Regions from separate parts of the Homo sapiens genome. Here regions 1, 3, 4, 5 and 6 are each linked to region 2. Evidence: promoter capture Hi-C in human tissues and cell types (Jung and others, 2019). All regions are on one chromosome and are shown on one strand. Each heading gives the region's core, a stretch centred on a gene start or on the middle of the fragment in contact. The rest is flanking DNA. Distances are from core to core; before and after follow the strand shown.

The links. The method cuts DNA at HindIII sites, captures the fragments that hold promoters and counts their contacts. A contact is called where the count stands out against the background at its distance.
Region 1: a fragment that was not itself captured here is called in contact with the fragment with the promoter of ZNF563 in region 2 in 4 of the 25 tissues and cell types used here (bladder, dorsolateral prefrontal cortex, mesenchymal stem cells and 1 more).
Region 3: a contact is called between a fragment that was not itself captured here and the fragment with the promoter of ZNF563 in region 2, in 2 of the 25 tissues and cell types used here (aorta and dorsolateral prefrontal cortex).
Region 4: the fragment with the promoter of ZNF878 here is called in contact with the fragment with the promoter of ZNF563 in region 2 in 1 of the 25 tissues and cell types used here (small bowel).
Region 5: a contact is called between a fragment that was not itself captured here and the fragment with the promoter of ZNF563 in region 2, in 1 of the 25 tissues and cell types used here (spleen).
Region 6: a contact is called between a fragment that was not itself captured here and the fragment with the promoter of ZNF563 in region 2, in 1 of the 25 tissues and cell types used here (mesenchymal stem cells).

What each region holds. Positions count from the first base shown.
Region 1 is chr19:11,881,572-11,885,421 of GRCh38, forward strand. No RefSeq gene overlaps it. Among named protein-coding and RNA genes, the nearest start is that of ZNF69, 4.3 kb to the right of the region's middle. The HindIII fragment of the contact is 6,745 bases long and covers 1-3,850 here.
Region 2 is chr19:12,331,642-12,335,152 of GRCh38, forward strand. ZNF563 (zinc finger protein 563) reads right to left here and starts at 1,992. Exons shown (of 4, transcript NM_145276.3): 1 at 1,839-1,992. The coding sequence starts at 1,841. RefSeq lists enhancers at 89-168, 1,346-1,455, 1,686-1,945, 2,048-2,913 and a silencer at 2,086-2,225. The HindIII fragment of the contact is 22,494 bases long and covers 1-3,511 here.
Region 3 is chr19:11,843,133-11,846,825 of GRCh38, forward strand. No RefSeq gene overlaps it. Among named protein-coding and RNA genes, the nearest start is that of ZNF439, 3.7 kb to the right of the region's middle. The HindIII fragment of the contact is 5,747 bases long and covers 1-3,693 here.
Region 4 is chr19:12,050,997-12,054,785 of GRCh38, forward strand. It overlaps ZNF878 (zinc finger protein 878), which reads right to left and starts at 1,965. Exons shown (of 4, transcript NM_001080404.3): 1 at 1,803-1,965. The coding sequence starts at 1,805. RefSeq lists a silencer at 1,561-1,610 and an enhancer at 1,799-2,304. The HindIII fragment of the contact is 7,236 bases long and covers 1-3,789 here.
Region 5 is chr19:12,683,899-12,687,791 of GRCh38, forward strand. No RefSeq gene overlaps it. Among named protein-coding and RNA genes, the nearest start is that of GNG14, 2.2 kb to the right of the region's middle. The HindIII fragment of the contact is 4,816 bases long and covers 1-3,893 here.
Region 6 is chr19:11,950,113-11,953,613 of GRCh38, forward strand. It overlaps ZNF700 (zinc finger protein 700), which reads left to right. Exons shown (of 4, transcript NM_144566.3): 4 at 1-651. The coding sequence ends at 141. It also overlaps a transcript of ZNF69 not described here and the pseudogene VN2R21P. Among named protein-coding and RNA genes, the nearest start is that of ZNF763, 13 kb to the right of the region's middle. The HindIII fragment of the contact is 4,503 bases long and covers 1-3,501 here.

The sequences.
Region 1 (3,850 bases), core at 386-2,885, 450 kb before region 2:
ATGAGGGGTTGAGCCACAGCAAGCCCCCCTAGGCAAGAGATTCCTATCACGAGGGATTGAGCCTAGCCAGGACCCAGTATAGGAAATATTACAAGCAAAAAAGACAAAGTTAGCAACAAAGATATCCCCCCTAATAGTCCCCTAGGTCTCATGTTAAAACATTAGAAAGATAATGAAAAGACTAAACATAAGAAAAAGCAATTAGTGATAAAATATTGCTGTTCCATTTAGACTCAAGAACGAATCCTTGAACCCTTAGTTTTCTGGCCAGAATTTAAGTCGAATGAGGGATGGATTTGTGAACTTCTAATAGAAAATGTTGCTAGTAGAAGACCTGCCTCCTGAGAAGAAACAAATTATGCCCTATGTTAGTTGCAAGGAGTTGTCCTTTCCCCTCCTCCAAGGATTGAAAGGAGCAAGTCAAAAACTAATATTTGGAGGAAAATGAGTTGTACATGTGCCCTATTAAGATAGAACCATCTTTAATGAAAAAGACAGTGAAGGAAGGGGCTTGGGGGATCCTAGCAAAAAGAACAACTCGCAAGATCCCCTAGACCATTCCCCACCTAATACCCAACCCTTCCCCTCAGGCATCGCCCAGTAAGTCTGTTCTTCCCCAGCCTAAGTCCCTCTCCCCTAAAGAACTCCAAGCTCCTAATTCACCAGATGGCTTTTGCCAGGCTAGCAACATGAAGGATCTGCCGCAACATGTTGTCAGCGTTGTCTGGCCCATAGTGCACCCCTGCAGCGGCAAAGCCCATGCTCCTGCCCACTGGCTGGTCCAAGGTCCTGGCACTGTATTGACGGCAGCTCTGCATGACATGCGAGCCAGGCCCCAGCCTATGCCCCATGCAAACTACATTATAGGATATCTGCCTTACTTTGCTGAGGCTAAGTAATACGGGGCTTCAGCGATGGCTCCAAGCAGCCTGGCATCCCCGCAGCTAAGTTTCCTGAGCAAGAAGTAGATAATCTTTCAGCGGATATATCCACTAGCATTTATTATAGTCAGGCCAGTGTTAAAAGTGAAAATATCCACCAGAAAAGAACTCTGATTCTTTAAAGTCACCTATGTTAAAATGTACCACCAAAAAAGAATTACATGTGTATAAATATGAGGCTATTCTGTTAAAAATGATAGTTTAATGTTACTAGTAATTTGCTTAACCTAACAAGTTTCTTAACGAAAGATCCAAATCTAAAAAGGAAGCACACATGTTTAGATTTAACTGATTACCATACAAATGTCCGGCCAAACTTAAGAGAAACCCCCTTCAAAAATGATTAAAGGAAAAAGGATTCAACAGATGTTCAATAATAAATAGAGAAGTTCCTAGAGAAATAAAATTTAAAAATTGTTTAATAGTTTACCCAAATTTGTAAGCTGTTTGCACTTAGTCAAGCTTTAAAGTAACTGCAAAGGAACCATCTATACTAATCTATATTGATTCTAAATACACCTTTATCGTGGCTCATACATTTAGAAAATTTCAGACAATAATAAAGGTCAAAGCCTTGTTCATGAAGAGTTAATAACCCAAGTGTTAAATAACCTTCAGTTACCAGAAAAAAAAAAAAAGCTATTTTCCACGTCCCCAGGCACCAAAAATCCTATCTTTCAAGAGTTAAGAAAATAACCTAGCAAATCAGATAATCCGAACCAGCTGCCGTTTCTCCTGTAGGCACTGAAGGGAATTCAAATGTTATTTAAACCTCTTATGAAAGAAGTCCTATCCCACCTAAATTAGAGGACCCATTAAAGACCTCAAGCTATGTATAGCACAGTTAAAGTTTATATGTGTATGAAAATGTACATCCTTAGCCAAACAAGTCTAGAAACTTAGTTGCCATAACTCAAATGTCTTCTGTCTTCCTATTAATCCAAACTACCTCTCAAAGCAATCCACTGCCAACATTCCTACATACTTGGTTTATCTTCCACTTTCTCTTCCCTCAAAACTCACAATTTTCCAGTACAGGTGCGGCTCCTGGAGTTCCCAGTGCGTCAACACCGGCCTGAGGAGCTGGCCTAGTACTTCCCACCATTGAAACTGCAGTCTGGACAGCAGAGAAAGGATAGACCCATCACACCCGAGTCAAGAAAGCACCGCCACCCCCAAAGTCGTAGGCCATTATTCCAGGGGAAAACCCCCTCAAACTAAAGCTAAGAAAAATTTAACCTCTTACATCTATTCTATTACTCTTTCTTCTTTTCCCCTTCCAATGCTGACCACCTTGTCATTAATGTAACTCAATCAAACTCACCCCAAGTTATCACGTTTAATGCTATGTCTAGTCATACCCTGTAAAGATCTCCAAAGTCAAAGACAAGTCTCAGCCTCAGAAAAGTATCTCTGCCCCTTTAAGGTGAAAGGCCCCCCCTACCAAGACTCTTGTTCCTTAACAAATATAAGAAAACAAGTCTGTCATAGCTAGAATGATGTCCTATGGACAACCAAATGTCAAGGCTAGACCTCATCAGCAGGTGGCTGTATATCCTTAAAACCATACATTCATTTCACTAAAAAAAGCACCTCCCCAATTGCCAGTATAATCAATGTAATCCCATACAAATTTCCACCTCTACTGACCCTAAACCTACTTTAAGTCACTTCTATGGAACAGGAGCCAACTTGGCCAGCACAGACCTCATAAGATCTTTCGAAATGCGTTTTATTAATCCTTCATTCTCTTCACCCCCTTCCTTCTCTTCTCCTTCTAAGCTTTCTTCTAATCAGACTGCCACCTGTTTTCTACCTAATGATACTACTAAAGTAAATATTGTAGAAGTAAAAGATTTAAGACAAACCCTAGCAATTAAAACAGGATATCAAGATGTAAATACCTGGTTGGAATGGATTCAATATTCCGTCCGCACATTGAACAAAAGCAATTGTTACGCTTGTATGCATGGCAGACTAGAGGCCCAGACTGTTTCCTTTCCACTAGGATAGCCCTTCAGCCGACCAGGCATAGGCTGTATGGTAGCTCTTTTCCAAAATTCCACAGCCTGGGGCAACAAATCATGCCAAGCTCTCTCTCTGCTATATCCCGAAGTCCAACAACCTGCAGGCCAGCCCCCAAAGGCCATTCAGCTTCCTTCTCCTGACGTCAATTTCACCTCATGTCTCTCACGACGAGGGGAGAATCTGGCGTTCCTTAGAAGCTTAACAAGATGCAATAAGCTTAAGCCCTTCCAAAAACTTACCCATCAGTCTGCCCTTAGTCATCCTCAAGCAGATGTATGGTGGTATTGTAGTGGACCTTTACTGGATACTCTGCCAAGTAACTGGAGCGGCACTTGCGCTCTTGTCCAATTGGCGATCCCTTTCACACTGGCATTTCATCAACCAAAAAAAAAGAAAAGCCACAACACCAAAAAATAAGAGAAGCCCCTTATAAGTCTTTTGACTCTCAAGTTTACATAAAGGCCATTAGAGTCCCATGGGGAGTGCCTAACAAGTTCAAAACCTGAGACCAAATAACTGCAAGATTTAAACCCATATTTCCCCGAATAACTATTAATAAAAATGTAGCTTCGATAAATTACATCTATTATAATTAGCAGCAGTTTATGAATTACACCAAGGATCTTATCAAAAAACAGCTGACCAGTTAAGGCCTACTAGCCAAATAGCTTAAGAAAACAGAATCACTTGACTGGGCGCGGTGGCTCATGCCTGTAATCCCAGCACTTTGGGAGGCCAAGGTGGGCGGATCACAAGGTCAGGAGATCGAGACCATCCTGGCTAACATGGTGAAACCCCCGTCTCTACTAAAAAATACAAAAAAAGTATCCGGGCGTAGTGGCGGGCACCTGTAGTCCCAGCTACTGGGGAGGCTGAGGCAG
Region 2 (3,511 bases), core at 742-3,241:
AGGGTATCCAGCTCTTCCCCTGGGAGGCCCCAGCCCTGCATCTCAGGCTGTCCTCTGGGAGGAGTGGCCCAGGGGCTGATATTCACTACCCTCCAAGACAAGGCTGCTGTATCCACTTGGTGCCAGTCCCAGGCAGTTATCAAAGCCAGTACCAGGAAAAGATAGTGTGGGCTCAGGACTCATCAGCTGGTGGTTTCCAAAGGGGAACCTCAACCCAAACACTTCCAGATAAGGTGCCTGTGCCCAGAGAAGATAAAAGGAGAAGAGGCGCAGACATTTTTCTTGTTGGTTTTTACAGCAGAGTGGTTAAACCACCTGACAGGTGGTTATTCTCTGCATCCTCACATATGAAATATTCACAAACAAAAATCATATCTTCTAAAAAAGAATCATATATTGCTACCTGGGGAAAAAAATGACAGTTAAAATACTGTATTTGTTTGAAATACAGCCTGGGGGACAAAGAGTTCATTATGTTGCTGTGAACTGAGGACAGTGTAGAGTCTTAATTAGGGAAAAGGCTAAGGGGAACAGGGGAAAAGGCTGTTAAATTAAAGTCTTAATTAGGGAAAGGCTAAAGGGAACAGGGGAAAGCAGAAAGATAAAACAAAAAAGCTATAAATCTGCCTATCTTCATGTGCAGAGAATTTAAACAAAAGAGAATGCAGGTAAGTTACGGGTCTAACTTTGTTTTTTTTCTTTTTTCTTTTTTTTTTTTTTTTTGAGACGGAGTCTCTCTCTGTCGCCGGCCCAGACTGGAGTGCAGTGACGTGATCTCAGTTCACTGCAACCTCCGCCTCATGGGTTCAAGCGATTCTCCTGCCTCAGCCTCTCGAGTAGCTGAGATTACAGGCATGTGACACCACGTCTGGCTAATTTTTGTATTTTTAGTAGAGAAGGGGTTTCGCCATCTTGGCCAGGCTGGTCTGGAACTCCTGTACATGTCTAACTTTCTTTATGGCCCAAGACATGGCCTTCTTGCCCAGATAACGCACTTAATTCACAGACTTCCTGCTCACCATCAAACGCCTCAATTTATCAAACACCGGGGCTGACAGAGGAATGCAAGTTAAGCTCCCTGCTGCCTTGGCACTCTGCTGCCTTGGCACTATCAATCAGCCCAAGTTCCATTCTATAAAATCACCCACAAGCCTCTGCTTCTCTCCTGCAGGCTTCCCATGGCCTCCCTTGCGATGGATTTTGCTTCTTTCGCTAATAACTTTACCTACAACTGTCTTAGTAAAAATTATTTTACCCCGGCGTTACCGGCCCAGATAGCAGTCGTTCCCCTGTGACGGAGAGGAAGTCAGCTTTATGAAATGCAGGGCAAAATCTGGAAATCTAGGGATTTACTGCCAGCCCCAGGAGTTAGGGTGAGGGGACAAGATAAGCATTAGACATCTGCCTTCCCAAACCTTTGAAGACTCAGAGGGACACCGGTCCCCTTTAGGAAGAAAACAGAGACTGAGGATCCCACAGATCACAGCTCCTCACAGGCACGAACCCCACACACGAGTGGGGATTCCCTCCATGACCCTTCCGTGACCCTCCCCCAATCCTGGGGAGATGGGGGGCTGCGGGCGAGGAGCTGCCCAGACAGGGCTCCGAGGCCGGGACCGCAGTTGCCGCGCAGGGACCGGATAGGACGCCCGGGGTCCCGGCTGCCAGCTCAGCCTCACTCTGTGGCTGAGGGGACCGAGGGTCGAGCTGCGCCAGGGGGACTCGGGTCCCAGACCCCGGAGCTGACGGCGGGGGAGGCCCACGTTCGCCGCGGCCGGTTCTGGACGGTTCCAACCAGCTCTTTCCCACTTTTGGGACGCCTGACCCTGCACACGCACCATTTCCCGGCTTCCGGGATGTTCCAGGGTCCTCCCTCTGCCTCCCGCTGCCAGTGCGGGTCCCACTGTGACAGAGGCTGCCACAGACGTTCCAGGGCGTCTCTCAGCGACTGAGGCTACACAGACGTTCCAGGGCGTCTCTCAGCGAGCGACTGAGTCTAGAGCTGAGCGCAGGGGCGTGAAGACGCCGCGGGCTCTTTGAACCTGGCACCCTACTGCCAGCCGTGCGCCTGATTGACAGTTCTCACGACCCCGCCCCATAGCTCTGATTGGATAGGGCTCCAGGTCCCGCCCCCTGGGCACTGAGTGACAGAAGAAGCGATCACACAGTGCTGAGTCGAGCGGGATGAACGAGTTCCAGGCACAGCCCTTGACAGGGCAGGCTTCCTCCCTGTGCTGTCCTGATCCCTCCCAGGGAACATTTGCATTTATGCAGAATTACCTGCCCGTACTCAGCAGGCCCTTACTGCCTTTTCCTCCTGGAGAAGGAGTCACAAGTGTTTTGCAGGGAATCCCAGACTCACAGTCCAGTGGAGCCATTCCCCTGGCCTCAGAGCAGAGGGGAGCCCAAGGCCACACAGGCCACACTGCAGCAGGAGGGTGGCCTGATGTCCACCGGGCATCAGGATTTGAGGATGAGACTCTTGGCGGCAAGGTTAAGCCTTCCTCTCTCACCTTGCCTCTCAATCTGCTCATTTTCAGCCAAGGAAATAAAAACAAGTCAAGAACGGTATTAAAATATCAAATGTGTGGAAGAACTGAAATCACACGGCAGCAATAAATGAATGAATGAATCAAAACAAAAATACAACAGGAAAAAAAAAGCAAAAACTTGAACTAGTGCAGATAAGCAGCCTGCTGCCCTCATACTTCAGCAAACGTCCCATTCAGGAGGCTAAACATATGCCCAAACTTGGCAGCCACTCTTAACTGTTGAAATGGAACCCCAGAGTGAACCAAAACCTGGTGATGAGACTGGGACACTGAAGGATTTGACTCTGGGAGCTCAACATACTTCCCTGTGCCCTCTGCAGAGTGTGGAAATGCCCCCACCGTCAAGATGTGCATTTTCACCAACAGGAAAGTTTCATGTAAAGTTAGTTTAAGGGCCCGGGGCGGTGGCTCACGCCTGCAATCCCAGCACTTTGGGAGGCCGAGGCGGGTGAATCACCTGAGGTCACCAGTTGGAGACCAGCCTGGCCAACATGGTGAAACCACATCTCTACTAAAAATACAAAAATTAGCTGGGCATGGTGGCGGGCACCTGTAATCCCAGCTACTCGGGAGGCTGAGGCAGGAGAATCACTTGAACCTGGGAGGCGGAGGTTGCAGTGAGCCGAGATCGTGCCACGGCATTCCAGCCTGGGTGACAGAGTGAGACCTGGTCTCAAAAAAAAAAAAAAAAAAAAAAAAAAGGTTACTTTAAGGTACTGACCTACATAAACTGTCAAATTCATAAACCCTTTACCCAGATTTTCCTAACACATAAATGGTAAATTCTGATTCTATGTGCAGCTTCGTGCTACGTGGAGGCGTGCGCAGGCTGCTGAGGAAGCACCAAAGGGGGCTCCATTTCTCTCCCTTTGCAGCCTTCAGAATGGGCTCGGTGTAGAGTCACTGGTTCAAACTCTGCTGCCCACTCCAGGTGGCTGGGGCTCAGAAAACAATACCCC
Region 3 (3,693 bases), core at 1,140-3,639, 490 kb before region 2:
TAATTTGAGACAGTCTTGCTCTGTAGCCCAGATGGAGTGCAGTGGTCACTCACTGCTCACTGTAGCATCAGGCTCGTGGGCTTGAGCAATCCTCCCACCTCAGCTTTCTGCCCAGTTAATTTTAAAAAATTTTTTTGTGGAGACAGGGATCTCACTGTTTTGCCCAGGCTGCTCTCGAACTCCTGGGCTCAATCAATTCTCCTGCCTCGGCCTCCCAAAGTGCTGGGATTGCAAATAGGAGCCACCACACTCAGCAATGAGGGTTTTTTTTTTTGTTTTAAACAAGATATCCGTACATGTTTCTGACCAATATTTTATTTAAAATCTTTAAGAACTACATATTAACAAAGGTTATTCTGTTTTTCATTTTCTGTTTTCCATTTTCATTATGACTACTTGTTTTTCTTTCTTATTCTCATTTTTTTCCTAGATCATTACAATAATTTTCCATGTAGTGGCCCTGGCATGCATTTTGATCCTTCATGCAATCATACAGCTACCTCGATGTCCATTCTCTCTGCCATTCTGAAATTGGACCTCACTCCTTTTTGACTCTAGCTCTCCATCTGCTATGTGATAAAGTCCTGTCTTGTGATGGTTACTATGGGACTGAATGAAGAAGGGCAGATGCAGAAATAAAGACAAAAGATCTATGTTAAAGAAGGGATCAGGGGGCTCCTTGCTTCTAGTGAGCAAGGGCCCTGAGCTTCTATAGCCCTTTGTTTTTATTGGGTAGAAAGAGCAGGGAGGAGGAGGTAATGGTTGGTCAGCTGCTTGATTTATCACAGGTTCACATGATTACTTTCTTTGTACAACAGGCTTCAGATGTGCCTGTAGATAATCACAAGAAACACTGCGCTTGGGGAGTAACTGCCCTCAGCATTCTTTCTGGGTGGCAGACGTAGTTTGTCAGTTTGCCAACAAGCTGCATTCATGAGAAGAGTTTGCTGTTTGCTCATTAGCCTCCAGTGGTATACTGAGTTGATCAGGACCCCCATTCTTTCAGCCTCCAACACTGTCTGATTACATTGTTTCCAAAGCCTCTTTTATGGACTTCTGTTTACCCCTTGGCGTGTCCTGCATTTACTCTCCTCAAAATGTGTACTTAGAGGCCGGGTGCGGTGGTTCATGCCTGTAATCCCAGTACTTTGGGAGGCCAAGGCAGGAGGATCCCTTGAGCCCAGGAGTTTAAAACCAGCCTGGGCCACACTGGGAGACCCTGTCTCTAAAATAAAATGTATACTTACAAGCCCTAAACCCCAACAGGGTCATATTTGGACACAGACCTTTTAGGAGATCACATACATTTATAAAGGAGAGCCCTCATAATGGGATTAGTAAGAAGAGAGAGAATTCTCTGTTTCTCCAGCATGGGAGGACAAAGCAAGAAGGCATCTAGCTGTAAGCCAGGAAGATAGCCTTCACTGGGAACAAAATTGCTGGCAGCAAGATTTTGGACTTCCCGCACTCCAGAATTGTGAGAAACAAATGTTTGCCGTTTAAGAAACTGAGTCCATGGTATGAGTCCATGGTATTTTGTTATACCAGCCTGAGCTAAGTCACCCCAAGAGTCCTCACATTAACCATATACTGTCGTACAAGTGCTGCATTTGGATCTACCTGGAATGTCTCCAAGTCTTCTACTTTTCCTCTTGGACCCATTGTGAGAATAGGTTTTGCTTCATAGGCAACTGCTGGTGATAGTAGTGATAGCCCATAACAACTAGGGAGTTAAAGAAACTTCCTTTCTCTCTCTCTCTCTCTCTGTTTTTGAAATGGAGTTTTTGCTCTTGTTGCCCAGGCTGGAGTGCAATGGCACGATATCGGGTCACTGCAACTTCTGCCTCCTGGGTTCAAGTGATTCTCCTGCGTCAGCCTCCCGAGTAGCTTGGATTACAGGTGTGCACCACCACGCCTGGATAATTTTCGTTTTGTTAGTTACAGACGGGGTTTCACCATGTTGGCCAGCTTGGTCTCGAACTCTTGACCTCAGGTGATCCACCTGCCTTGGCCTCCCAAAGCGCTAAGATTACAGGTGTGAACCACTGTGCTCGGCCTCTTTTATATGTGTGTGTATATATATATATTCTCTTTTTTAATAAAAGTAAATAGAAACTAGGTCTTACTATGTTGCCCAGGGTGGTCATAGCCCAAGATTTTGGGCTCAAGCGATCTACCCGCCTCGCTCACCCAAAGTGCTGAGATTAAGGCGTGAGAAACTGTGCCAGGCCAAATGAAAGAAACTTAGTGGGAGGCCTGGCACAGTGGCTCACACCTGTAATCCCAGCACTTTGGGAGGCTGAGGCGGGTGGATCACTTGAGCTCAGGAGTTCAAGACCAGCCTGGACAGCATGTTGAAACCCTGTCTTTACTAAAAATACAAAAAATTAGCCGAGCATGGTAATCCCATTCTCACAGTCATAGAAAGGTTCTTTTTTAAGGATTCTACCTACTTGAGAGCATCATATACTGCCAGCACTTGTTCACTTCAAGAGTGTCTGGTTTCATCTCTATGACATAATTACAACCAAAATCCTAAAGGAACTGATTTACCACACTGTGTTTGCCATAAGGCCCAATTTGTACCTGCAGCAGCAGCTGTATCATCCCAACTCACAGCTCTACCCTCTAAAGGTGTGCCTGAGGCTTGTGATCCAGTCCATAGGGAAATATCACTACCTGCTGTGTTTTATAATTGGACCATCCAAGGGTTGTCAGGGTTTTCCCAGAGAGTTTTGTGGGATTTTTTTTTTTTTTTGAGACCAGGTCTTGCTGAAGTTAGTATGGCAGCATACTAACACATTAACCTGTCGAAAGCTTCCTGCAGAGCTGTGTCCCAGTCTCAAAGTGCCCCTTTCTAATAATTCTATATATTGGTATCAAACTTTGGGCTAAGTGTCAGATAAATGCTCTCCAATAATCCAAAGACCAACAAATGTCTGGATTTCTTTTTTCTTTTTTGTTTTTTAAGAGACATAGTGTGGTTCTGTTTCCCAGGCTGGAGTGCAGTGGTGGGATCATATAGCTCACTGCAGAAACTCCTGGGATCAAGGGATCCTCCTGCCTCAGCCTCCCAAGTAGCAGGGAATAAAGGCACATGCCACCATGCCCAATTGTTTATAAATTTTTTTGTACAGATGGAGTCTCACTGTATTTTCCAGGCTGTTCTTGAACGCCCAGGCTCAAGTGATTCCCCAACCTCAGCCTCCCAAAGTGCTGAGATTACAGTCATGAACCAATGCACCCAGCCCTGAAAAGGAAATATTTCGAATGGAAATTCAAAGGGAGAACATCTAATGTTCAAGTTGATGTCTATAGAGCAGTTAACGGGAACTATCATTTAGGGTCTGTGGGATTCTAGGACACTAGGTATGAAACAAATATGAGGAAGGTCAGAGAACAAGCTGACTTAATGATTAATGCTGAAGGTGCTGCCAGCTTGGTTTAAGTTTTCCTCCTCCCTTCCTCCCTGATGAATTTGATAAAGTTTAAAGGGATGGTTTCACCAGGGGCCTTTTACATTGACAGCAAGGAGGTCATCCGCCTGGTAAATCCTCAGTAGTCCAAGCCTCTTACATGGCTAGAATGATCCAGTCCATAAGGAAACGTCACCACCCTCTGTGTTTTACAATTAGACCATCCAAGGGGGTCAGGGTTTCCCCAGGGAATTTGGTGGGATTTTTTTTTTTTTGA
Region 4 (3,789 bases), core at 715-3,214, 280 kb before region 2:
GAGGCAGGACAATGGCGTGAACCCGGGAGGCGGAGCTTGCAGTGAGCAGAGATCGCGCCACTGCACTCCAGCCTGGGTGACAGAGTGAGACTCCGTCTCAAAAAAAAAAAAAAAAAAAAAAAGAAAAGAAAAGAAATTAAAACCCCTTGCAAAGAAAATTTTAAAGTCCTGGGCCGGGCGCGGTGGCTCACGCCTGTAATCTGATACAGGAGAATCGCTTGAACCGGGGAGGCGGAGGTTGCAGTGAGCCGAGATTGCGCCATTGCACTCCAGTCTCGGCAACAAGAGCGAAACTCCGTCTCAAACAAACAAACAAAAAAACCTGTAACTAAATTGTATAATTAATTTAGTTGTACTAATTAGTTGTATTAAATTAATTGTACAATTAATTTAGTTGTACTAATTGTTGCGATAATTAAATTTCTTTGTTTTTTGCCTATATAAGAAGGAGCTTAACTTTTTTTTTTTGAGACAGTCTCATTCTTTCACCATGGCTGGAGTGCAGTGGGGCATTCCACTGTAATCCCAGCACTTTGGGAGGCCGAGGAGGGTGGATCACGAGGTCAGGAGTTCGAGACCAGCCTGGCCAATATCATGAAACCCCGTCTCTACTAAAAATACAAAAATTGGCCGGGCGCAGTGGCTCACGCCTGTAATCCCAGTACCTTGGGAGGCCGAAGTGGGCGGATCACAAAGTCAGGAGGAGTTCAAGACCAGCCTGGCCAATATGGTGAAACCCGTTTCTACTAAAAATACAAAAATTAGCCGGGCGTGGTGGCTGGCGCCTGTAGTCCCAGCTACTCGGGAGGCTGAGGCAAGAGAATCGCTTGAACCCGGGAGGCGGAGGTTGCAGTGAGCCGAGATGGCGCCACAGCACTTCAGCCTGGGGCGACGGAGCGAGACTCCGTCTCAAAAATATAAAAATCTGGTAAAATAAAAACAGGTCTTTTGGGGAAGGGGGCGGGGACTGGGATGGAATAACGTGGCAGATAACAGCCCTCCTTCCTACAGCCTCCAAATTTTAGACAAAGCTTTACACACTCTCAACCAACTGCCACCTACAGAATCCCTCCACCACCTGTGCCTTCTAACCCCGCTTCCATGTGTCCCGCCTTTCGGCCAAAGGAACTTACACCTTCCCGGCACTGATTCATCATTTTCCTGCAATTCCTGTCTCCCTGAAATGAATAAAACCAAACTGTCAGGAGCTGCCTCGGGATTGCTTACTCCAGACTTCGCGGGGTTGTGTTTCCCTCAGCCGAGGTCTCTCCTATTCGGCTCAGAATAAACTTATTCTACACGATTTGGGTTTTTCCGTTACCAAACCACAAGCCAGGACTGGGAGTTTCTCATTCATTAATCGCTGTTTGCTAAAATAAACTCTCATTTTTTAACAGTGCCTCAGTTTAATTTTTAACTGGAAAAAAAAAGGAACTGGGGACCCCACAGCCCACAGCTCCTCCCACACGAACCCCACACCCGAGGCAGGATCCCCCATGACCCTTCCATGGTCACCGCACAATCTGGGGAGACGCGGGGCTGCGGGCGCGGAGCTGCTCAGAGAGGGAGCCGGGGCCGGGGCCGCAGTCGCCGCGCAGGGACCGGACAGGACGCCCGGGGTCCCGGCTGCCGGCCCAGCTCCACCCAGCGGCCGAGGGGACCGAGGGCCGAGCTGCGCTAGGGGGACTGTGTCTGGAGCCCAGAGTCGCTGCAGGGGGGCCCGGGCCCCGCCACAGCGGGTTCCTCTCGGTTCCACCCAGTCCCTCCTTTCGCCTTGGGACTCCCCAGCACCGCATGCTCACCATTTCCTGGCTTCCAGGTATTCTGGCGTCCTCTCTAAAGGTCCCGTGAACAGTGCAGGTCACAGCGCAGTCGACAGAGCAACAGCAGCTACGGCGGAAGTAACTGGTCCCTCTCGGAGCAAGAAAGCCCCAGACCTTAACTAGCGCGAGCAGCCCTAGGAGTGAAGAGAGCGGGAATGCAACCTCCCCTTCCCTGGAGGACAGTGGCAGGGCCCCGCCCTAGCGCCCCTGATTGGATAGGGGTCTAGACTCCGCCCCCTTCCCTGAGTGACAGCAGAAGCCCCGGGTAACTGGGCGCTGCAGAGCCGAAGCGACTGGTTCTGGCCACACTTTCCAAGGTCAGCTCCCTCCCTCCCTCCCACCTTTACTTCGAATATTTGCCTTCGGCCAAACTTGCTCCGAACTGCTAGAAGGGACACTGTTGTCTTCCTCACTCCGTGGGCCGTCCCTGCCCCTTCATCCTACACGGGACACAAGTGTGCAGGGAATTCCAGATTCAGTGTCCACAAAATGTGAAAGACATTAAAATATTTTGCCCCAAGATATTGCCCTGCCAAAATATATTTCTTTGACAGTTTTGAAATGGCTGCTGCTTGGCCAGCAAACAAAAGGTGGCCTTGCAAAACTGTCTTTTGAGGGGGAAATTTACATTTGTAGAGAATCTCCGTTAATGAAGCACTGCCAGCTCCCCCGTTCTTTTCCTTTCCCTGATCTAAAAGCTATTGAGAGTTTGACACCTTTAAAATCTGAAGAGAGGTAGCACATGGTGACTCATGTCTATAATCCCACCACATTGGCAAACTGAGGCGGAAGGATCCCTTGAAGCAAGGAGTTTGAGGCCAACATCATCAACACAGCGAGATCCCTGTCTTTCTTTCTTTTTTTTTTTTTTTTTTAGACAGTCTCGATCTGTCGCCCAGGCTGGAGCACAGTGGCACGAGATCTTGGCTCACTGCAACCTCCGCCTCCCAGGTTCAAGCGATTCTCCTGCCCCAGCCTCCCAAATAGCTGGGATTACAGACATGCGCCACCACGCCCCGCTAATTTTGTATTTTTAGTAGAGACGGGGTTTCTCCATGTTGGTCAGGCTGGTCTCGAACTCACGACCTCAGGTGATCCGCCCGCCTCGGCCTCCTAAAGTGCTGGGATTACAGGCGTGAGCCACCTCGCCCGCCGATCCCTGTCTTTATTATTTAAAATTTTTTTAAATGGCCGGGCGCTGGCCGGGCGCAGTGGCTCACGCCTGTAATCCCAGCACTTTGGGAGACCGAGGTGGGCGGATCACGAGGTCAGGAGATCGAGACCATCCTGGCTAATACGGTGAAACCCCGTCTCTACTAAAAATACAAAAAAAAAATTAGCCGGGCGTGGTGGTGGGCGCCTGTAGTCCCAGCTACTCGGGAGGCTGAGGCAGGAGAATGGCGAGAACACGGGAGGTGGAGCTTGTAGTGAGCAGAGATCGCACCACTGTACTCCAGCCTGGGCCACAGAGCAAGACTGTGTCTCAAAAAAACAAAACAAAACAAAACAAAAAACCAGTGGCCGGGCGCAGTGAGACCAGGTCTCTACCAAAAAGATAAGTAAATAGATTAGGGCCAGGCATGGTGGCTCATGCCTGTAATCCCAGCACTTTGGGAGGCCGAGGTGGGTGGATCACTTGAGGTCAGGAGTTTGAGACCAGCCTGGCCAACTTGACGAAATCCCATCTCTACCAAAAATATAAAAATGAGCTGGGTTTGGTGGCACACACCTGTGATCCCAGCTATTCGGGGGGCTGAAGCAGGACAATTGCTTGAACCCAGAAGACGGAGGTTGTAGTGAGCAGAGATTGCACCATTACACTCGAGCCTAGGTGACAGAGTGAGACCTTGTCTCATAAAAAGGAAAAAAGTCTATTCTCTGGGGGAGACATCATCTACGTAACAGTCCACCTCTAGCCAAGCCTCTTCCTTTCTCAGTCTACTAAGCTGTCTTGCTACTAAACCTA
Region 5 (3,893 bases), core at 951-3,450, 350 kb after region 2:
CCATGGACAAGATTTCGGTCACCAGGCAGAGTTAGACACAGTTTCATCCTTCCTCAGCCACTTTTGTCTAATGGGATAGTGAGCCCGGTTCGTGCCCTCACAAGTCTCCAAAGCCTTCACATGCTGCATAACGCTCTGTTCTTCCTTCCCTTATAGCTGCAGCTGTCACCTCCACCTCCTCTGGGAAGCCTTCCCTGAACTCCCACTGGGTCAGTGGCCTCTTCTGGGACCCAGGGCTGACGTCTCTTTCCCTCCTGCAAGAATGTGAGACCCTGGGTGTCATCTGTATCTCAAACACACCCTCCTAACAGTGCATACGGCCAACAGGATTATTCACTCACTCTACAATTCATGTAGTCTATTCTCTATGGTGGGCTCCGTGCTAGGCACTAAGGATTTAGTGGTGAACAAGACCAAGATGTGGACCCTGCCCTACTGGAGCCCACAATCTGATTGGGAAGATAGAAAGTTAACAATAGTGGTGAGTGCTATCAGGCCTTTTTTGTTTTTTGTTTTTTTTGGAGACAGAGTTTCGCTCTTGTTGCCCAGGCTGGAGTGCAATGGCGCGATCTCCACTCATCGCAACCTCTGCCTCCCAGTTTCAAGCAATTCTCCTGCCTCAGCCTCCCGAGTAGCTGGGATTACAGGCATGAGCCATCACGCCCGGCTAATTCTTGTATTTTTAGTAGAGATGGGGTTTCACTATGTTGGTCAGGCTAGTCTCGAACTCCTGACCTCAGGTGATCTGCCTGCCTCGGCCTCCCAAAGTGCTGGGATTACAGGTGTGAGCCACCGCGCCCAGCGCAATCAGGATTTAAACAGGATAATTTGAGTCTTTAGGTGGAGGAGTTCGGGATTTTAGTTGGAGGGATGGGTGAAGGACGCCAAGGAGGTGAGATTTGAGCCAAAGCCAGAAGGCTGAGAAAATCCCCGTATGTGAAGATGCAGAGAGGCCATTTCCTGCACATGGGAAGACAGAACAGCAAAAGCCGTGAGGCTGGAATGAGCCTACCTTGTTGGAGGAGACAGACATCCTCCTTGACATCCTCGCTTGGACCTCAAAGTTGCCCCCTCAGCTCCCTCTCCACCTATCCCTGATCTTTCTGCATCTCAGCAAACGGCCCCACCCTCCACTCATCCACTAGACTGAAAAATAGGGATTGGGGCTGGGCGCGGTGGCTCACACCTGTAATCCCAGCACTTTGGGATGCCAAGGAGGGCAGATCACCTGAGGTTAGGAGTTAGAGACCAGCCTGGACAACATGGCGAAACCCCGTCTCTACTAAAAAATACAAAAATTAGCCGGGTGTGGTGGCGCACACCCATAATCCCAGCTACTCAGGAGGCTGAGGCAGGAGAATCACTTGAACCCGGGAGGTGGAGGTTGCAGTGAGCTGAGATGGTGCCACTGCACTCCAGCCTGGGCAACAGAGCGAAACTCCGTCTCAAAAATAGATAAATAAAAATTAAAAATGAGGAGCGCAGCTTGCTGTCTCCCCTTTTCTCACACCCCACATCCATCCTTCTCAGCATGTCTGCCAACCTCTACCTATAAAGTAGGTCCGAAATCCAGGTGTTTTCTTTATCCCCATAGCCTGCAAGCTGGCTTTGGTATCCTCCAACCCATCTCCCACCTAACAGCTAAAATCAGAGAGCTTTTTTTTTTTTTTTTTTTTTTTTGAGACGGAGTCTTGCTCTGTCGCCCAGGCTGGAGTGTAGTGGTGTGATTTCGGCTCACTACAAGCTCCACCTCCCGGGTTCACGCCAGTCTCCTGCCTCAGCCTCCCAAGTAGCTGGGACTACAGGCGCCCGCCACACGCCCAGCTAATTTTTTGTATTTTTAGTAGAGACGGGGTTTCACCATGTTAGCCAGGATGGTCTTGATCTCCTGACCTCGTGATCCGCCCACCTCAGCCTCCCAAAGTGCTGGGATTACAGGCATGAGCCACCGTGCCCAGCCGCTGAGCTTTTTTTTTTGATGCAGGGTCTCACTCTGTCACCAGGGCTGGAGTGCAGTGGGACAATCACACCTCACTGCAGCTTCGACCTCCTGGCCTCAAGTGATCCTCCCACTTCAGCCTCCCCAGTAGCTGGGACTACAGGTGCATGCCACAGCTCTTTAACCATAAATCAAACATGTCACTGTTAAAACCTCCTAATGGTAGCTTCCCCCTGGGAGTAAAATCCAAGCTTTTCACAGTGGCCTTAAAGGGCACCTCTCAACCTCCCTGCTGCCATCTCCCACCATGCTGGCCCTCCCTCCCTCTCTCCTCTCCAGCTACACAGACCTCTTTGCTATTCCTGGAACCCACCAAGCTCTTTTTTGTCCAAGGAGTCAGGTACTTGCCGCTCCTTCTGCCTAGAACACCCCATTTCTCAGTTCCTTCTCCTCCTTTGGGCCTAAGTTCAAATGTCACCTCCTCTGAGAGGCCTGCCCTGACCACTCCTCTCCCCTTTACTTTGATTTTATTCTTCTTTCATATGCCCTTTCACATGTATACTCTTTCACTGAGTACATTTTCTGTTGTCCATCCCTGCCTAACTAGAAAGGCAGCTCCATGAGGGCAAGGTTTTGTCTTGTTTCATTGCTAATTTGGGTTTTTGCACAGTGCTGGGCACATATTAGAATCTCGGGGCAGGGCTCAGTGGCTTATGCCTATAATTCCTTTGGAAGGCCAAGGCAAGAGGATCGTTTGAGGCCAGGAGTTCAAGACCAGCCTGGGCAACATAGTAAGAACCATCTCTACAAAAAGTTAAAAACATAAATTAGCAGGGCACGGTGGCTCACGCCTATAATTCTAGCTAATCAGGAGGCTGAGTTGAGAGGATCACTTGAGCCCAGGAGTTTGAAGTTACAGTGAGCTATGATTGTACCACTGCACTCCAGCCTGGACGACAGAGCGAGAACCTGGGCTTAAAAAAAGAAAAGAAGGCCAGGCACGATGGCTCACACCTGTAATCCCAGCACTTTGGGAGGCCGAAGCAGGTGGATCACTTGAGGTCAGGAGTTCGAGACCAGCCTGGCCAACATGGTGAAACCCCTTCTCTACTAAAAATACAAAAATTAGCCAGGTGTGGCCGGGCGCAGTGGCTCATGCCTGTAATCCCAGCACTTTGGGAGGCTGAGGCAAGTGGATCACCTGAGATCAGGAGTTCAAGACCAGCCTGACCAACATGGTGAAACCTCATCTCTACTAAAAATACAAAAAATTAGCCGAGCATGGTGGCACATGCCTGTAATCCCAGCTACTCGAGAGGCTGAGGCAGAAGAATCGCTTGAACCCAGAAGGCGGAGGTTGCAGTGAGCCGAAATCACGCTATTGCACTCTAGCCTGGGCAACAAGAGCGAAATACCATCTCAAAAAAAAAAAAAAAAAAAAAATTAGCCGGGTGTGGTAGCATACGCCTGTAATCCCAGCTACTCAGGAGGCTGAGGCAGGAGAATCACTTGAGCCCGGGAGGTGGAGGTTGAAAGTGAGCTGAGATCGCACCACTGCACTCCAACATGGGTGATAGAGCAAGACTCTCTCTCAAAAAAAAAAAAAAAAAAAAAAAAAAGAACGAAGGCATTGGAGATTTGAGCCTGAGCAGTGGCGACAACAGGAGGAGAGGCAAGGCTGCATGTTGGAGATGGCAGAGGCTGACAAAGCAGATGTGTTGGGAACAGTTAGCAGGAGATCCAGCAGGCCAGGGGGAGGCCAGGGCCTCCTCACTCCCCCAGCCAAGGCACCTAGCCCACAGGGACCCAGGTGACACATGACACCAGAGGAGCCACAGGGCCTCCTGGGGCAGGGACCCCCTCAGCCGAGGCAGCAGCTGCTGCTGCAGCTGGTGACATTTCACTCCATGAGAGCCCTGGCTTCAAAGTCTTTGCAGGGGTAGCCGAGGGAGAA
Region 6 (3,501 bases), core at 464-2,963, 380 kb before region 2:
ACACACATTGGAGAGAAACACTATGAATGTAAGGAATGCGGAAAAGCATTCAATTATTTTTCTTCCTTGCATATACACGCAAGGACTCATATGGGAGAGAAGCCATATGAATGTAAGGATTGTGGGAAAGCATTCAGCTAGCCTGGTTCCTTTTATGGACATGAATAGACTCACACTGGAAGGAAGCACTATGAATGCAAGCAATGTGGCAAAACTTTCACATTTTCCAGTTCTTTTCGATATCATGAAAGGACTCACACTGGGGAGAAACCCTATCAATGTAAGCAGTGTGGGAAAGCCTTCATTCCTTTTACTTCTTTTCAATGTCATGAAAGGACTCACACGGGAGAGAAACCCTATGAGTGTATTCTAGTTCCGTTTGATATCATGAAAGGACTTACACTGGAGTGAAACCCTATGAATGTAAGCAATGTGGGAAAGCCTTCAGATGTGCCTCGCACCTTCAACGGCATGGAAGGGTTCACACTTGGGAGAAACTCTATGAATGTAAGCAGTATGGGAAAGCCTTCAGATCTGCCAAGATTCTTTGAATACAGATAATTAATGTAAACAATTATCATAAGTATACTAACATGTTATTCTTTTTAAATAAGAAGGTATAATAAAATATCCCATTGGTTTTATGTATTAGATCAAGCTTATAATGTTACATTGTTATTATTTGGACATTGTGAGTCAGTATTACCATGTGGATAAAATGCCAGGCATCTTTTTCCTCATGGAAAGTTTACTTTTTGCACCGGGCACAGTGGCTCACGCCTGTAATCCCAGCACTTTGGGAGGCCAAGGCAGGCGGATCACGAGGTGAAGAGATCAAGACCATTCTGACCAACGTGGTGAAACCCTGTCTCTACTAAAAATACAAAAATTAGCTGGGCATGGTGGCGCGCACCGGTAGTCCCAGCTTCTCGGGAGGCTGAGGCAGGAGAATCGCTTGAACCTGGGAGGCGGAGGTTGCAGTGAGCAGAGATCACACCACTGCACTCCAGCCTGGCAACAGAGCAAGACTCCATCTCCAAAAAAAAAAAAAAAAAAGAAAGAAATTTTACTTTTCATGCTTATGTACTTATTTTTTATCTCAACCCTAATTTTGCTGGTTTTTGTTTTTTTTTTTTCTGATAGTCTCATTCTGTCGCCCAGGATAGAGTGCAGTGGCGCAGTCTCAGCTCACTGCCACCTCCGCCTCCTAGGTTCAAGTGATTCTCCTGCTTCAGCCTCCTGAGTAGCTGGGACTACAGGCGTGCCCCACCTCACCCAGCTAGTATTCGTATTTTTTTAGTAGAGATGGGATTTCACCATATTAGCCAGACTGGTCTCAAACTCCGGACCTCGTGATCTGCCCACCTCGGCTTCCTAAAGTACTGGGATTACAGACATGAGCCACTGGGCCCGGCCTCAACCCTAATTTTTCATTCACTCATTATGCCAAAAGTTATCTCATATACCTCTGAGTGCCTTCTTCCCCAAAACCACCAGTGCCATACCTGCTGTCAGCAAGGGTGTAATATACTGTAGTGGTAAATATGACCACAAGTCATAAATGACTGTGGGATGTATGAGAATTACAAGTCACATTAGTAAGAAGAGAAAAATTTTGGTCATGTTTATGATTTGAAATATGTTTTCTTTTATCACATTTAGAAATATAGTTATAAAATATTCTCTTTTTTTGTCCTGATCCATCATGGTCACTGAGGAGCATCGTCTCATATGCCCGGTATGTGACTTGTGTCTCTCCAATGGTAAAAGCCTTGGCCTTGGCCAGACACTGTGGCTCACGCCTGTAATCACAGCACATTGGGAGGCTGAGGCAGGCGGATCACCTGAGGTCAATACTTTGAGACCAGCCTGACCAATATGATGAAACCCCATCTCTACTAAAATTACAAAAATTAGCCAGGTGTGGTTGCATGCTCCTGTAATCCTAGCTAGTCAGGAGGCTGAGACAGGAGAATCGCTTGAATCTCGGGGGAGGGCAGAGGTTGCAGTGAGCCAAGATGGCGCCATTGCACTCCTGCATGGGCAACAAGAGTGAAACTCCATCTCAAAAAAAAAGACTTGGCCTTGTGATGAGGGGAGGTCAGCTCTAGACTCTTGGACCGGGTTTTGCCTTACTTATTCTCTAAAGACTAAAATATTTCCTAAAATGTATGGGCACTGTTTACTAGAAAGTACCTTAGTTAAAACATACAAATTCATTTATGCCTTATAAAGCTATATTTTTTCAAATTGTTTTACTAAGTCATAGGAAGCTAATACAGTTGTGTAAATTGTCTGAATACAAGCCTTTCTTTCTCTGATAATGTGCTGTTGATGCTAACTTGTCAACAGCCTGCTTATCTCAGCAGTGTAAAGTTAACAGCAACGTGGAAAAGTAACTTTTATATATTATGCAATGGCATAGAACAATTCAGTCACTTCCCTTAAGGTACCAATGAAGCTGCTCTTCAGAAACCCTTATTTAAAAAACACTGTCAAAATCCAGGCACCAAAGGATGCAGCATCAATCATTGACCAAACCCTATCTGTGTGTGGAGATGACATACCCAGTCTCAGATAATGCATCCTCATCAGTGAAGGGTGGAGTCATTGATTGTCAGATCACACAAAGTGACTCACAGCAGGGAAGACAGGGCAGTGGCAGAGATGGGGGCACCTGACCAGGTGCAGTGGCTCACACCTGTAATCCCAGCACTTTGGGAGGCTGAGGCAGGTGGATCACTTGAGGTCAGGAGTTGAAGACCAGCCTGGCCAACATGGTGAAACCCCATCTCTACTAAAAATACAAAAATTAGCTGGGCATCGTGGTGTGTGCCTGTAATCGCAGCTACTCAGGAGGCTGAGACAGGAGAATCACTTGAGCCTGGGAGGCAGATGTTACACTGAACTGAGATCACGCCACTGCACTCTCTAGCCTGATCAACAGAGCGAGACTCCATCACACACACACAAAAAAAATTAAAAAAGAGTTGGGTGCACCTGGATCTAACCCCTGTCTCATCCTTCTGCCTTGAAGGCCAAATGCACCCTGATACTTTTCACCAAAGAGTAGAAACACCACCATCCACTTGACCCCAAATGTGACTTTCCACAGGATGCAAGCACAGTGTTGGAATAGCCAAAGACAGTAACAATAGAAGTGCAGGGTGAGGGTGATGAACAGGACACACTGGAGAGCCTGACATTGGCCTAGACTACGGGGGTGTCTTGATCCTTCACAAAGAGCCCAAGGAGCAACCCAAAGAGACACTGGAGCACAGGCCCAAAGGGTGTTCATATGCCAGGAAGGCCACTAATTTTAGAAGGCAGTGATGTTGGTTCCTGTTGGAGTCCTGATCCTTTATAACATATGCTTTTCTGCATCTGGTTAGACAAGGAAATCTGCAATTTTTGACTTGCAGCATTTAGAAATAAGTTATTTTAGCAATCCACACACTCGTGGTTTATTCTGAACTAACTTGAGACAAACAGCTACAGATA